Linked DNA regions of Homo sapiens: regions 1, 3 and 4 are each linked to region 2. Evidence: promoter capture Hi-C in 16 types of primary human blood cells and fetal thymus (Javierre and others, 2016). All regions are on one chromosome and are shown on one strand. Each heading gives the region's core, a stretch centred on a gene start or on the middle of the fragment in contact. The rest is flanking DNA. Distances are from core to core; before and after follow the strand shown.

The links. Contacts are between HindIII fragments. The CHiCAGO score rates a contact against its expected background, and 5 or more counts as called.
Region 1: a contact is called between a fragment that was not itself captured here and the fragment with the promoter of GIMAP8 in region 2, in 1 of 17 cell types (non-activated CD4 T cells). The highest score is 5.1, in non-activated CD4 T cells.
Region 3: a fragment that was not itself captured here is called in contact with the fragment with the promoter of GIMAP8 in region 2 in 13 of 17 cell types (non-activated CD4 T cells, activated CD4 T cells, total CD4 T cells and 10 more); the score reaches 32.5 in non-activated CD4 T cells.
Region 4: a fragment that was not itself captured here is called in contact with the fragment with the promoter of GIMAP8 in region 2 in 8 of 17 cell types (non-activated CD4 T cells, activated CD4 T cells, total CD8 T cells and 5 more); the score reaches 12.8 in non-activated CD4 T cells.

Annotation. Positions count from the first base shown.
Region 1 is chr7:150,591,765-150,595,218 of GRCh38, reverse strand. No RefSeq gene overlaps it. Among named protein-coding and RNA genes, the nearest start is that of GIMAP4, 26 kb to the right of the region's middle. The HindIII fragment of the contact is 1,114 bases long and covers 1,116-2,229 here.
Region 2 is chr7:150,448,664-150,452,062 of GRCh38, reverse strand. It overlaps GIMAP8 (GTPase, IMAP family member 8), which reads right to left and starts at 1,433. Exons shown (of 5, transcript NM_175571.4): 1 at 888-1,433. The HindIII fragment of the contact is 1,822 bases long and covers 637-2,458 here.
Region 3 is chr7:150,670,108-150,673,444 of GRCh38, reverse strand. The region is part of intron 2 of LOC124901774 (a long non-coding RNA gene); the gene reads left to right. Among named protein-coding and RNA genes, the nearest start is that of GIMAP2, 14 kb to the left of the region's middle. The HindIII fragment of the contact is 9,573 bases long and covers 1-3,337 here.
Region 4 is chr7:150,652,301-150,655,456 of GRCh38, reverse strand. The region is part of intron 3 of LOC124901774 (a long non-coding RNA gene); the gene reads left to right. Among named protein-coding and RNA genes, the nearest start is that of GIMAP6, 21 kb to the right of the region's middle. The HindIII fragment of the contact is 6,469 bases long and covers 1-3,156 here.

The DNA of each region.
Region 1 (3,454 bases), core at 423-2,922, 140 kb before region 2:
AAAATATTGCTCAAACTTCTCAAGATGGCCAAATAAAAACAGATCCAGTCTGCAGCTCCCAGCAAGATCAACACAGAAGGCAGGTGATTTCTGCATTTCCAACTGAGGTACATGGCTGATCTCATTGGGATTGGTTAGACAGTGGGTGCAGCCCACAGAGGATGAGCAGAAGCAGGGTGAGGTGTTGCCTAACCCAGGAAACACAAGGGGTCAGGGAACTCCCTCCCCTAACCAAGGGTAGCCGTGAGAGACTGTGCCATGAGGGATGGTGCATTCCAGCCCAGATACTGTGCTTTTCCCACCATCTTCACAACCCACAGACCAGGAGATTTCCTTGGGTGCCTACATCACCAGGGCCCTGGGTTTCAATCACAAAACTGGGCAGCCACTTGGGCAGACACCGAGCTAGCTGCAGGAGATTTTTTTTCATACGCCCGTGGTGCCTGGAATGCCAGCAAGACAGAACTGTTCACTCCCCTAGAAAGGGGGCTGAAGCCAGGGAGCCAAGTGGTCTAGCTCAGCAGATCCCACCCCCATGGAGTCCAGCAAGCTAAGACCCATTGGCTTGAAGTTCTCACTGCCAGCACAGCAGTCTGAAGTCAACCTGAGATGCTTGAGCTTGGGGGGTGGGCGGGGAGGGGTGGTATCCAGCATTGCTGAGGGTTGAGTAGGTGGTTTTCTCCTCATGGTGTACACAAAGTCCCCAAGAGGTTTGAACTGAGCAAAGCCCACTGCAGCTCAGCAAAGCCCCTGTACCCAGACTGCCTCTCTAGATTCCTCCTCTCTGGGCAGGGCATCTCTGAAAGAAAGGCAGCAGCCGCAGTCAGGGGCTTATAGATAAAACTCCCATCTTCCTGGGACAGAGCACCTGGGAAAAGGGGCAGCAGTGGGCACAGCTTCAGCAGACTTAAACTTTCCTGCCTGCTGGCTTTGAAGAGAGCAGTGGATCTCCCAGTACAGCACTTGAGCTCTGCTAAGGGACAGACTGCCTCCTCAAGTAGGTCCCTGATCCTGGTGCCTCCTGACTGGAAGAAACCTCCCAGCAGGGGTCAACAAACACCTCATACAGGAGAGCTCCAGCTGGCACATGGCAGGTGTCCCTCTAAGACAAAGCTTCCAGAGGAAGGAACAGGCAGCAATCTTTGCTATTCTGCAGCCTCGGCTGGTGATATCCAAGCAAACAGGGTCTGGGGTGGATCTCCAAAAAACTCCTGCAGACCTGCAGAAAAGGGACCTAACTGTTAGAAAGAAAACTAACAAACAGAAAAGAATAGCATCAACATCAACAAAAAGGACGTCCACACAGGTACCCCATTTGAAGGTCACCAACATGAAAGACCAAAGGCAGATAAATTGACGAAGATGAGGAAAAGCCAGTGCAAGAAGGCTGAAAATTCCAAAAACCAGAATGCCTCTTCTCCTCCAAAGGATCACAACTCTTCACCAGCAAGGGAACAAAACTGGACAGAGAATGAATTTGAAGAATCGACAGAGGTAGGCTTCAGAAGGTGGGTAATAACAAACACCTCTGAGCTAAAGAAGCATGTTCTAACCCAATGCAAGAAAGCTAAGAACCTTGAAAAAGGTTAGAGAAATTGCTAACCAGAATAATCAGTTTAGAGAAGAACATAAATGACCTGATGAAGCTGAAAAACACAGTACGAGAACTTTGTGAAGTATACACAAGTATCAATAGCCAAATGGATCAAGCTGAAGAAAGGATTTCAGAGACTGAAGATCAACTTAATGAAATAAAGCATGAAGGAAAGATTAGAGAAAAAAAGTATGAAAAGGAAGGAACAAAGCCTCCAAGAAATATGGAACTATGTGAAAAGACATTTGATTGGTGTACCTGAAAGTTATGGGGAAAATGGACCCAAGTTGAAAAACACTCTCCAGGATATTATCCAGGAGAACTTCCCCAACCTAGCAAGACAGGCCAACATTCTAATTCAAGAAATTCAGAAACCACCACAAAGATACTCCTCGAGAAGAGCAACCCCAAGACATATAATTGTCAGATTCAACAAAGTTGAAATGAAGGAAAAAAACGTTAAGGGCAGCCAGAGAGAAAGATCAGGTTACCCACAAAGGGAAGCTCATCAGATTAACAGTGTATCTCTCTGCAGAAACCATACGAGGCAGAAGAGAGTTGGGGGTTGTCAATATTCAACATTCTGAAATAAAAGAAATTTCAACCCAGAATTTTATATCCAGCCAAACTAAGCTTCATAAGTGAAACAGAAATAAAATCCTTTACAGACAAGCAAATACTGAGAGATTTTGTCACCATCAGGCCTGCCTTACAAGAACACCTGAAGGAAGCATGAAACATGGAAAGAAACAACCAGTACCAGCTGCTGCAAAAACATAACAAATTGTAAAGACCATTGACACTATGAAGAAACAGCATCAACTAATGGGCAAAATAGCCAGCTAGCATCATAATGACAGGATCAAATTCACATAACAATATTAACTTTAAATGTAAATGGGCTAAATGCCCCCAATTAAAAGACACAGACTGGCAAATTGGATGTAGAGTCAAGACCCAACGTGTGCTGCTGTATTCAGGAGACCCATCTTAGGTGCAAAGACAGACATAGGCTCAAAATAAATGGATGGAGGAATATTTACCAAGCAAATAGAGAGAGAAAAAAAGCAGGGGTTGTAATCCTAGTCTCTGATAAAAACAGACTTTAAACCAACAAAGATCAAAAAAGACAAAGAGGGGCATTATATAATGGTAAAGAGATCAATGCAACAAGAAGAGCTAACTATCCTAAATATATATGCACCCAATACAGGAGCACCCAAATTCATAAAGTTCTTAGAGACCTATGAAGAGACTTAGACTCCCACACAATAGTAGTGGTAGGCATTAACACCTCACTGTCAATATTAGACAGATCAACGTGACAGATAATTAACAACAATATTCAGGACTTGAACTTAGCTCTGAACAAAGCAGACCCAGTAGACATCTAAAGAACTCTCCACCCCAAATCAACAGAATATACATTCTTCTCAGCACCACATTGCACTTAGTCTAAAACTGACCACATAATTGGAAGTAAAACACTCCTCAGCAAATGCAAAAGAAGGGAAATAGTAACAGTTTCTCAGACCACAGTGCAATCAAATTAGAACTCAAGATTCAGAAACTCACTCAAAATTGCACGAGAACGTGGAAAGTGAACAACATGCTCCTGAATGACTACTGGGTAAATAACGAAATTAAGGTAGAAATAATGAAGTTCTTTGAAACTAATGAGAACAAAGACACAATGTATCAGAATCTCTGGGACACAGCTAAAGCAGTGTTTAGAGGAAAAATTATAGCACTAAATGCCTACAGGAAAAAAAGGGAAATATCTAAAATTGACACCATGATATCACAATTAAAAGGACTAGAGAAGCAAAAGCAAGCAAATTCAAAAGCTAGCTACAAGAC
Region 2 (3,399 bases), core at 184-2,683:
GGAAACAGCCCAAGGCAAACGTGGACTCAGGCATCTGAGCACAGCATCCAGCCATGCGGGGATTCATCCCACATCTAATCGCAGTTCCCACTTACAGAGCAGGGTGGTTGGAGATGCCTCCAGAGCCCAGCGTGGGGAAGACCTTAGACCCAGCCCAGCAGGGCAACCATCAAGAGGAAGGGAAGAGGTTAACTGCTGAGGACCAGGTTGGCTGAAATGTAGGTGAAATCAGAAATATTGCTTTTGGTAAGGTCTTGACCCCTCCAATCCCTCCAATGCCCAGTTCACAGAATCCTAACTGTGCAAGGGGCAGGAAAGATCAGAAAAGCAGACGTGGAAAAATCAGCATCCCCCACCCCCTGCTTTGCGGGAGGAGCTCCGCTGGCTTCCTCCTGGGGGCTGCTCTGCGGCACCATCTAGCTTCATGGGGCATCTGACCGGCTGCTTCCGCCTGCTTCTTCCTCCCTTCTGCCAGTCTCAGCCCTCCTCCTCTTCAGGGCTCACACCCACTCCCCGACACGCCTTCTTTTAGGACAGCCACTCTCATAGATGTCTGGGAATATGCCTCTGTCCCCATCCTGCCGAATCTACTCCCCAGCAGGCTGGGGAGACACGCTTTGGACCAGGAGGAAAGCTTCCCAGGGCCCCTGCCATTCAACTCTGCCATTCAACCCTGCCATTCAACCCAGCCTCCTCTCCCATGGCTGAGCAGGCTGCCTTCCCGGTGCCAAGCCCATCCTCCCCCACAGCCATGCACCAGTGCACACACATCTACACACGAGTGCACATGTCACACATGCACTGCGGTCGTGTCCCATGGGGTCCCACGGCGTCCCACAGTCTCCGAGGCTCCGCAATCCACCTGGCTCTATCCCTCCATCTCTCACCTGGGTGGAAGCAGCTGCTGGTCCCCCAGGGCACAGGATGTGAGGAAGGTGAGGAGGGTGAGGGGAGAATGGCCGGAGAGCGACCCTCTTCCCAGGCCCTGGTCTTCCTGGCAGGAGGGTTTCGGGTGTTTCTGCAAAGGAAGAGATTTCTAGAAATAGCCTTCACATCCACAGAGGCATAAATGCAGTCGGAGAGGAAGTTCCCTGTGCAGGCCACAGGCTCAGAACCTCGAGAGCCGTCGGGGCTCAGGGAGGAGCCAGCATCGGGGACACACGCGCCTTCCCTGGGTGCTGAGCGCCTCGTGGGGTCACAACACAGCAGAAACTGAGGAGCCCGGCCCGTCCCGCAGCTGCAGACTGAGAGGAGGGAGGAGAAATGACAGCAGAGGCTTGGCCAGGGGCTGGGGCGCCGGGGCCGGTGCCAGGCTGAGCTTCAGAAGGGCTGCAAGAACAGGGGCTTGGATAGGGCAGGAAAAGGACGTCAAGCCAGTTCCTGTTCCTGAGAGGACAGAGATTGTGGCGCCGCTACAAGCTCTGAGCAAAGCCAGCTCCGGGCCTCTGTGTGCCCTTAAGTGGCCTTTAGGACTTCCTCTCACAAGTCCTTCCTCGCTTCCCTTCCCTTCCCTAAAACCCACAACCCGGGGAACTCCAAGCCTGACAGACCAACGCTGCTTCTCAGGGAATGAATGCTTTTCCCCAGCTTGCAAAACGTGAAATGCTAGACTTCGATGCTTTCAAATATTTCACAAAATGAAATCCCTTTTGTGAAAGAACATAGTGTCCAAACTACCTGGTCTCTACTTCATAAGGAAGTCAAACACGGAGGAAGACTTCTTAAAAAATGTTTACTAGGGTAAAAATGATGTAACATTAATAGTACCATCCTAACCATTTCTAAGTGTATAGCCCACAGTAGAAAGTACATTCACATGGTTGTGTGCCAGATCTGCAGGACTTTTCATCCTGCAGCACCCAAACTCTCCCCATTACACCCCAACTCACCTCCCCGAACCCCAGCCCGGGTAACCACCGTTCTACTTTCCGTTTCTATGATTTTTTTTTTTTTTTTGAGACAGAGTCTTGCTCTGTCGCCCAGGCTGGAGTGCAATGGTGTGATCTCGGCTCACTGCAACCTCCACCTCCCGAGTTCAAGCAATTCTCCTGCCCCAGCCTCCCGAGTAGCTGGGATTACAGGTTCCCGCCACCACACACGGCTAATATTTGTATTTTTAGTAGAAACGGGGTTTCACCATGTTGGCCAGGCTGGTCTTGAACTCCTGACCTCAAGTGATCCACCTGCCTCAGCCTCCCAAAGCGCTGGGATTACAGGTGTGAGCCACCACACCCGGCCTGTTTCTATGATTTTTGGCAACGTCAGATACTCATGTGAGTGGAGTCCCACAGTGTCTGCCCTCCTGAGACTGAGCAGAATGCCCTAGAGGTTCATCCAAGTGAGTGCGGGACCCTCTGCGCTCTGCACAGCAGGGCCCTCTTCACAGGATGCAGAGGCTAGGGCCTCGAGGGACTGGAGCTCAAGTTAGTTTTCCAAATGTCTGAGGTGGTGCTAAGCTTTCCAAAGGGACCCCGCAGAAGGAGGAGCAGTGGGGGTGGCTGAAGTAGAGGGGCATGCTTCAGATATGAAGTCTCTACAGTAGTCAAAACCACAGGCTTTGGGGAGCTGCTGTCAGCCTATCACATCCCGAGGGATCCACCCTCCCCCTGGACTGGTCTTCATGCGCCAGCCTTGAGGACTGCTCTACCTTGTTATGAACCTGAGGGAAACCCTGGTTATGCTGGGATGGCTCAAGAAGAGCTTTGGGGACACACAGGACACATCTTGATGGGGAAAGCTGACAAAGCCCTTCCCATGTCCCACTCTACCTGTCTCCTCATTGAAAGAGGATCTATTTTGGAAGAACCCCACCCTTCCTTTACAGTAGGTCAACGCACATAAAACCAACTCATTATAATGAAAAGACAAAAACCCGAAGCCAGGTACTGCAGTTCATCCCCGCTGGGGTACTAACAGAGGCAGAGGCTCAGCAAGAAACTGTTTCCCCAAAATAGAGAAGAAAAGGCTCACTCATTCTTAAATGAAATATTAAGCATCCAGGGATTGCTCTAAGTAAAACTGAAGCTGCAAATAACTCCTCAAAGATTCAGCAAGTCGATTATTTGCTGAGTTGACCATTTTGCAAAATGATCTTTCAGCAAATCAGCTCCTAGAGAATTGATTTCCGTGCAGAAGGCAGGCTGCCGGGTTCTGGTTTGGCACCGATCTGAGGCAGGATGGGGGCTCCCTGCCCCCTAGTGGCTTTGTGGCTAATGACAAGTGCAGCAAAATGCTCCCCAGCGGGCCGAGAGCCCTGACTCAGCAGGCAGGTGAAACACTGGGGAGAAGTTCTAGACTTCCAGAAATCGAATAAGCCAGGAAGACACATGTTATGCAAGCAAGGAGAAATCTACCAGGACCAAGCACCGTATTAGACACAGAGGGCACAAAGATTAGCAA
Region 3 (3,337 bases), core at 377-2,876, 220 kb before region 2:
AAAACATGGATATTGCCCTTGAGTCTGTAGGGTGAAAGTGAAGTAAACTGCAGTCATATCTCAGTTGTTTCCTGACAAGATCCTGTCTTGTTCCCACGTTGTCTAAATTGGTTTTTAATTGTTGGAATCATTTTCTCCACATTATTAAGTGAAAGTTCTTCTATGAGAAAGGGACAATTTATTGCTGATTTCCAAAGTTTCATGAAGTGATGACTGCAAAGCAACACAATAACAACACCAACACCAACATCACCAACAGAAAAACCCTTCTTGGATCTTTTTTTTTTTTGGATCTTTTTGAAGAGGTCTGAATTGGTGACATGTACAGTGAAGAATGTGAAGAGCTATGAGCCTTACATAGCAAAGGACTTACTGCCAGAGAATTCAGTTCAAACCAATGCTCAGAGTTGCAAGAAGGAGTCAATCTTGCAGAATAATCTTAAAGATTAATTGAGTACATTTTTGAATTTAAAAATTTTTGCAATCTATCCATCTGAGAAAGGGCTAATACCCAGAATCTACAAAGAACTTAAACAAATTTACAAGAAAAAAACAACCCCATCAAAAAGTGGGCAAAGGATATGAACAAACACTTCTCAAAATAAGACATTTATGCAGCCAACAAACATGAAAAAAAGCTCATCATCACTGGTCATTAGAGAAATGCAAATCAAAGCCACAATGAGATGCCATCTCACGCCAGTTAGAATGATGATCATTAAAAAGTCAGGAAACAACAGATGCTGGAGAGGATGTGGAGAAATAGGAACGCTTTTACACTGTTGGTGCAAGTGTAAATTAGTTCAATCATTGTGGAAGACAGTGTAGCGATTCCTCAAGGATCTAGAACCAGAAATATCATTTGACCCAGCAATCCCATTACTGGGTATATACCCAAAGGATTATAAATCTTTCTACTATAAAGACACATGCACACACATGTTTATTGCAGCATTGTTCACAATAGCAAAGACTTGGAACCAACACAAATGCCCATCAATAATAGACTGGATAAAGAAAATGCAGCACATATACACCACGGAATACTATACAGCCATAAAAAGGATGAGTTCATGCTCTTTACAGGGATGTTGATGAAGCTGGAAATAATCATTCTCAGCAAACTGACACAGGAATAGAAAACCAAACCCCGCATGTTCTCACTCATAAGTGGGAGTTGAACAAAGAGAACACATGGCCACAGGGAGGGGAACATCACACACTGGGGCCTGTTGCGGGGTGGGGGGCTAGGGGAGGGATAGCATTAGGAGAAGTACCTAATGTAGATGACGGGTTGATGGGTGCAGCAAATCAGCATGGCACGTGTATACCTATGTGACAAACCTGCACGTTGTGCACATGTATCCCAGAATTTAAAGTATAATAATAATAATAAAAGAAACTTTAAAATCATACAAAAGTCATCAACAGAAGCATTCCACTATATGATGCAATCTCAAGCACAGTGTTACATTATTACCCAGGGGTCCGTATGCTTTCAAGCAGAGGAAACACAAAGACATGGCCATTTTGAGTTTTTCCCATCACATTGCTTTGACTATGATTTCAGACAACAGGCCACAGTCATCTCCTTCTGGAGGGTCAAATGCCATAAAGACAGTTCCCAGTCCCTTGGAACTGGATATGGACAAACCCCAGGAGTGAACAATTCCACCTCCTCCTTTATCAGCTCATCCCACACACTCACCCCGCTGAACAGCCACCGTGAGGACTCCGGTCTCCCTCTCCTCTCCTCTAAACCTCATTTAGGCAATTCTAATTAGTAAATAATCCTTTTTTAAATTTGTGAGTGAAATTTGATTTTGTTATCTATATGAACCTATTTTTGTATTTAATCAATTTTTCTGAATGCTTGTAGAAGTGTAGTAGAAAAGAATGTTTGCATTTATATCATTGCTTACTGCAGACAGATATGAGTGTAGTGTTAAATCACTGGCAAATAATCAGCTAAACAATTAGCTGATTGGCATTTAATGGCCTTACATTTTGCAGAAATCATTGGTGATTTTTATTATATTGCTTTGATTGTTTAAAAGTGTTTTAGTGATATCTGGAGGAAATTGTTGGGGTTTTTGGATGGGCTAGAAATGTACTGCAGCTTTTCCCCTTTAAATGATGAAATATAGAACCCCTATTGTGGAATTTTGCTATGTAACTTTTTTTGGGATGTATGACATTCGGAGCAAGGGATTCCTCTACTGTGAGATGTAATGGGGTGGCATTGTAAAAGACTCAGCAGGCCATGAAGGCAAAGAGTTGTGGGTGAGTCAGGGCTTTATAAAGATCTCTGAGCATCTGAGAACCTGCTTCTCACACACAATCTGTTTTCCTGGCTATTATGAGTCAAACAGGGAATAAAGCTGACCAATAGTACCTTTAAGTTCTGTTGACTTTACAATTCTATGATAAACCTGGGAAAGTAAAACCACCAGGAAAAGAGTCTGTTACCTTGGTGAAGGAGGGTAGAAGCGATTTGGGATATTCTAGGCTCAGCAGGTGCAACGTGGAGAAGAAGCTAGGGACACAGTTGACAACGAGAGGCTCCCACATGTGGCCCTCATTGATCTGTCCCCCACCCCATCTAGAGCCATTTGAGCCACTCCAACTGAGGCCCAGTCTGCAAGGAGTGAAGTCAAGTTGTACCCAGTGTGCTCTGCCCAAATTCTTGACACACAAAAACACGTTGTTTTAAGCCACTGAGTTTTGGAGTAGTTTCTTATGCAGCAACAGATAATCAAATCACCTGAGTGGGTTCCTACAAGGAGAATTGCTATACAATTGGTACATGCATTTGTAATTTTGAAAGATATTACTGAATTGCTTACAATAAAAATTTTAGTCAAATTAGTTTCACCAGCATTTTATTAGTTTCCCATATTGATTTCTCATAATTTTATCTTTGCCAAACTGATAGGTGAAAGATGATGTTAGTGTGATTTTCATATACATTACTCAATGGGAATATGATTGAGTCATTTGTCATATGTCTATTTATTAAAGAAAGAACTATATTTTTTATTGATATCTCTTACATATTTATTGCCCATGTTTCAATTCTGATGGGAATAATTTTGATATTGATTTGTAAAAGTTCTTTATGGGGCCAAAAATGATAATTTATCTTCTTTTTTTGAATTTTTTATAAAACAACTTCTAATTTCTTTCACTGTTAATTTATTGTGGCTAGTATCTAAGAGAATGTTAAATAAGTAATCACAATGATAGTAGGCTTCCTTAGCTTGTTCTTAACTTTTGTGGCAATATCTCAATGTTTACCATTAAACTAGATGCAGACTTTGAGGTTGAGATGGAAAAT
Region 4 (3,156 bases), core at 644-3,143, 200 kb before region 2:
CCTCTAAAGGGCACCCAGGTGGGTGTGGTGGTATGCGGCCTGTAATCCCAGCTACTCAGGAGGCTGAGGCAGGAGCATCACTTGAACTTGGGAGGCAGAAGTTGCAGTGAGCCGAGATTGCACCACTGCACTCCAGCCTTGGCAATAGACAAGACTCAGTCATAAATAAATAAATGGCACCTAGAGGTGTTGCCAAGTTATTTTGGCTATATAAAAACATTGGGGAGCATTGTAACAAGGAGATTCTTGTGCTGGTTGCTGGAGCTCACTCCCACCCTGTAAACTGTCTTCAACAAATCTGTGCTTTCATTACTTCCTTGCTTTGTCTTTCATTGCTTCATTCTTTTGTTACTTTGTGCATTTTGTTCAATTCTTTGTTCAACACTTCAAGAACCTGGACAACTCTATCAGTAACAATAGGATTGAACAAAGTAGTATGTATATTGCAAATAATGTTGCACAAACAAGTTACAAATAAGAATAGAACTTACTGCTTTTTAAAAGCATGTAGATAGAGAGATGCAGAAATCAACATAAGTATGTGGATTTGCATATGTAAATTTGCACGCATGGCTTTCCCAGCTCTGTCTGCTAAGGCGAGCTTAGAAAAAGTGACACCTTCTAGCAATGAGCACATCAAGTGTCCAAATCTTTGTTTATTACCCAATAACCAGAACCAAAAGTCCTTGGAAAAGGGGTAGATTCCAGAGAATGTTTCTCATGTATAGATTTGGCAAAACTCCTAAAGTTTGACAGCCTACTTTCTTGACAAAAGTATAGGGAAGACAGAAACTCTCAGACACTGCTGAAGGGAAAGCAAAAGAGTTCAGCCCTATGGGGGTAAATAAAGAAGGATTTACCCTTTGACACACATTATCAAATTTAAGAATGTGCCCAAAAATACACTGGCAAAAGTATAGAAAGAACTATGCAAAAATCTCCTTGGAAGAGTACTATTTAAAAAAGCAAAGACAAAAACTGATCCAAATTACCATGAATAAGAGACTGGCGGGATGAACTTAGATACATCTATGCAATGAAGTACTTCTTCATTGTAAAAAGTAGTGAAGACTATCTCTATAGAGAGTTGTAAAATCATCTCCAGGATATATTGCTAAGTATTTTATTCAATTATGAGTTGAATAAAATAATGTAAGGGATACTATCATTTGTTTAGTAAGGGGCACAAGATACACTTTTGCATATATATTTATTATATTTATATGTTATATATTTTCATATAGATACATAAATATAAGGATGACAATAGAAAGATATACTTTGAAAACAAGCAAGGAAAGAAAGAAGGAAGGGAAAGAAGAAAAAGAGAAAAAGAGAGGTAGAAGAAAGGAAGAAATAAAAGAAGAAAGCAAGAAAGAGTAACAAGGAAGGAAAAAGTTACCTGTGTACAGAGGGAGGGAATAGAAATGAGAGCAGAAGCTGGACTTCTTTGAATTGACTGTTATGAAGATTTGATTTTAGAATGATAAAAATATTTGAGTTGAAGTGTGACTCTACCACACTCACTCTTAACCATGCACTCTACAGCCTGTCCTTGGTTACTCTCAAACCATGATTGTACATTTTCATTGACATCATGTGATAAATAGGTCAGGGGAGGGCAAAGGAAATGATCCACACTTTGCTCAGAAGGTGAGCTGGGAGCAAGCCTTGGATTGGAGAGTCCATGGGGAGGGCTCCGCACTTCTCTGTGGACTTTTCCCTCTATCCCATACTGAAAAGCCAAAGATGAGAGAGAGACAGAAAAAATCATTTTTTTTTTTTGAGATGGAGTCTCACACTGGCATCCGGGCTGGAGTGCAGTAGCATGATCTCGGCTCACTGCAACCTCCCCCTCCCAGGTTCAAGCGATTCTCCTGCTTCAGCCTCCCAAGTAGCTGGGATTACAGGCACCCGCCATGGCGTCCAGCTAATTTTTTTGTATTTTTAGTAGAGACGGGGTTTCATTACGTTGGTCAGGCTGGTCTCAAACTCCTGACCTTGTGATCCACTCGCCTCAGCCTCCCAAAGTGCTGGGATTACAGGCATGAGCCACCGCGCCTGGCCTAGAAAAATCATTTTAAAACTTTCCTAAATGGGAGACAATTAGATCATCATAGCAGATGGCAGGCAGGACCAGATTGCAGTTCTGGACAGAGCAGCTTGTGGAAGCTCACATTGTGAATTTTAGCGGCAGATCAACTGCAAGAACAAACCAGCAACCCTGAGAGGACCCTCCAAAGGAAGCAGTCTGCTCCTGCAGGACCTGGGAGATACCCCAAATACTGTGAGTGCCCCAACTGCAGAAGTGGGAAAGGGAGACCCTCCTCTCCCAAACACACAACAAAAAAAAAAGTCCAGGACCAGATAGATTCACAGTAGAATTCTACCACACATTCAAAGAAGAATTGGTACCAATCCTTTTGATGCTGTTCTACAAGATAGAGGAAGAAGGAACCCTCCCTAATTCATTTTATGAAGCCAGCATCACAGTAATACCAAAACCAGGAAAGGACATAATCAAAAAAGAAAACTACAGACTGATATCCTTGATGAACATTGATGCTAAAATCCTTAACAAAATACTAGCTAACTGAATCCAACATATCAAAAAATATGATCGAGTAGGTTTCATACCAGGGGTACAGGGATGGTTTAACATATGCAAGTCAATAAATGTGTTATACCACATAAACAGAATTAAAAACAAAAATCACATGATCATCTCAATAGATGTGGAGAAAGCATTTGACAAAATCCAGCATCCTTTTATGATTAAAACTCTCATCAAAATCAGCATAAAAGGACCATACCTTAATGTAATAAAAGCCATCTATGACAAACCCATAGCCAACATAATACTGAATAGGGAAAAGCTGAAAGCATTCTCCCTGAGAACTAGAACCAGACAAGGATGCCCACTCTCACTGCTCCTCTTCAACATAGTACTAGAAGTCCTAGCCAGAGCAATCAGACAAGAGAAAGAAATAAAGGGCATCCAATCAGTAAAGAGAAAGTAAAATTGTCACTATTTGCTGATGATATGATTGTTTACCTTGAATACCCTAAGGACTCCTCCAGAAATCTCCTAGAACTGATAAAAGAATTCAGCAAAGTTCTGGATATAAAATTAATGTACATAAATCAGTAGCTCTT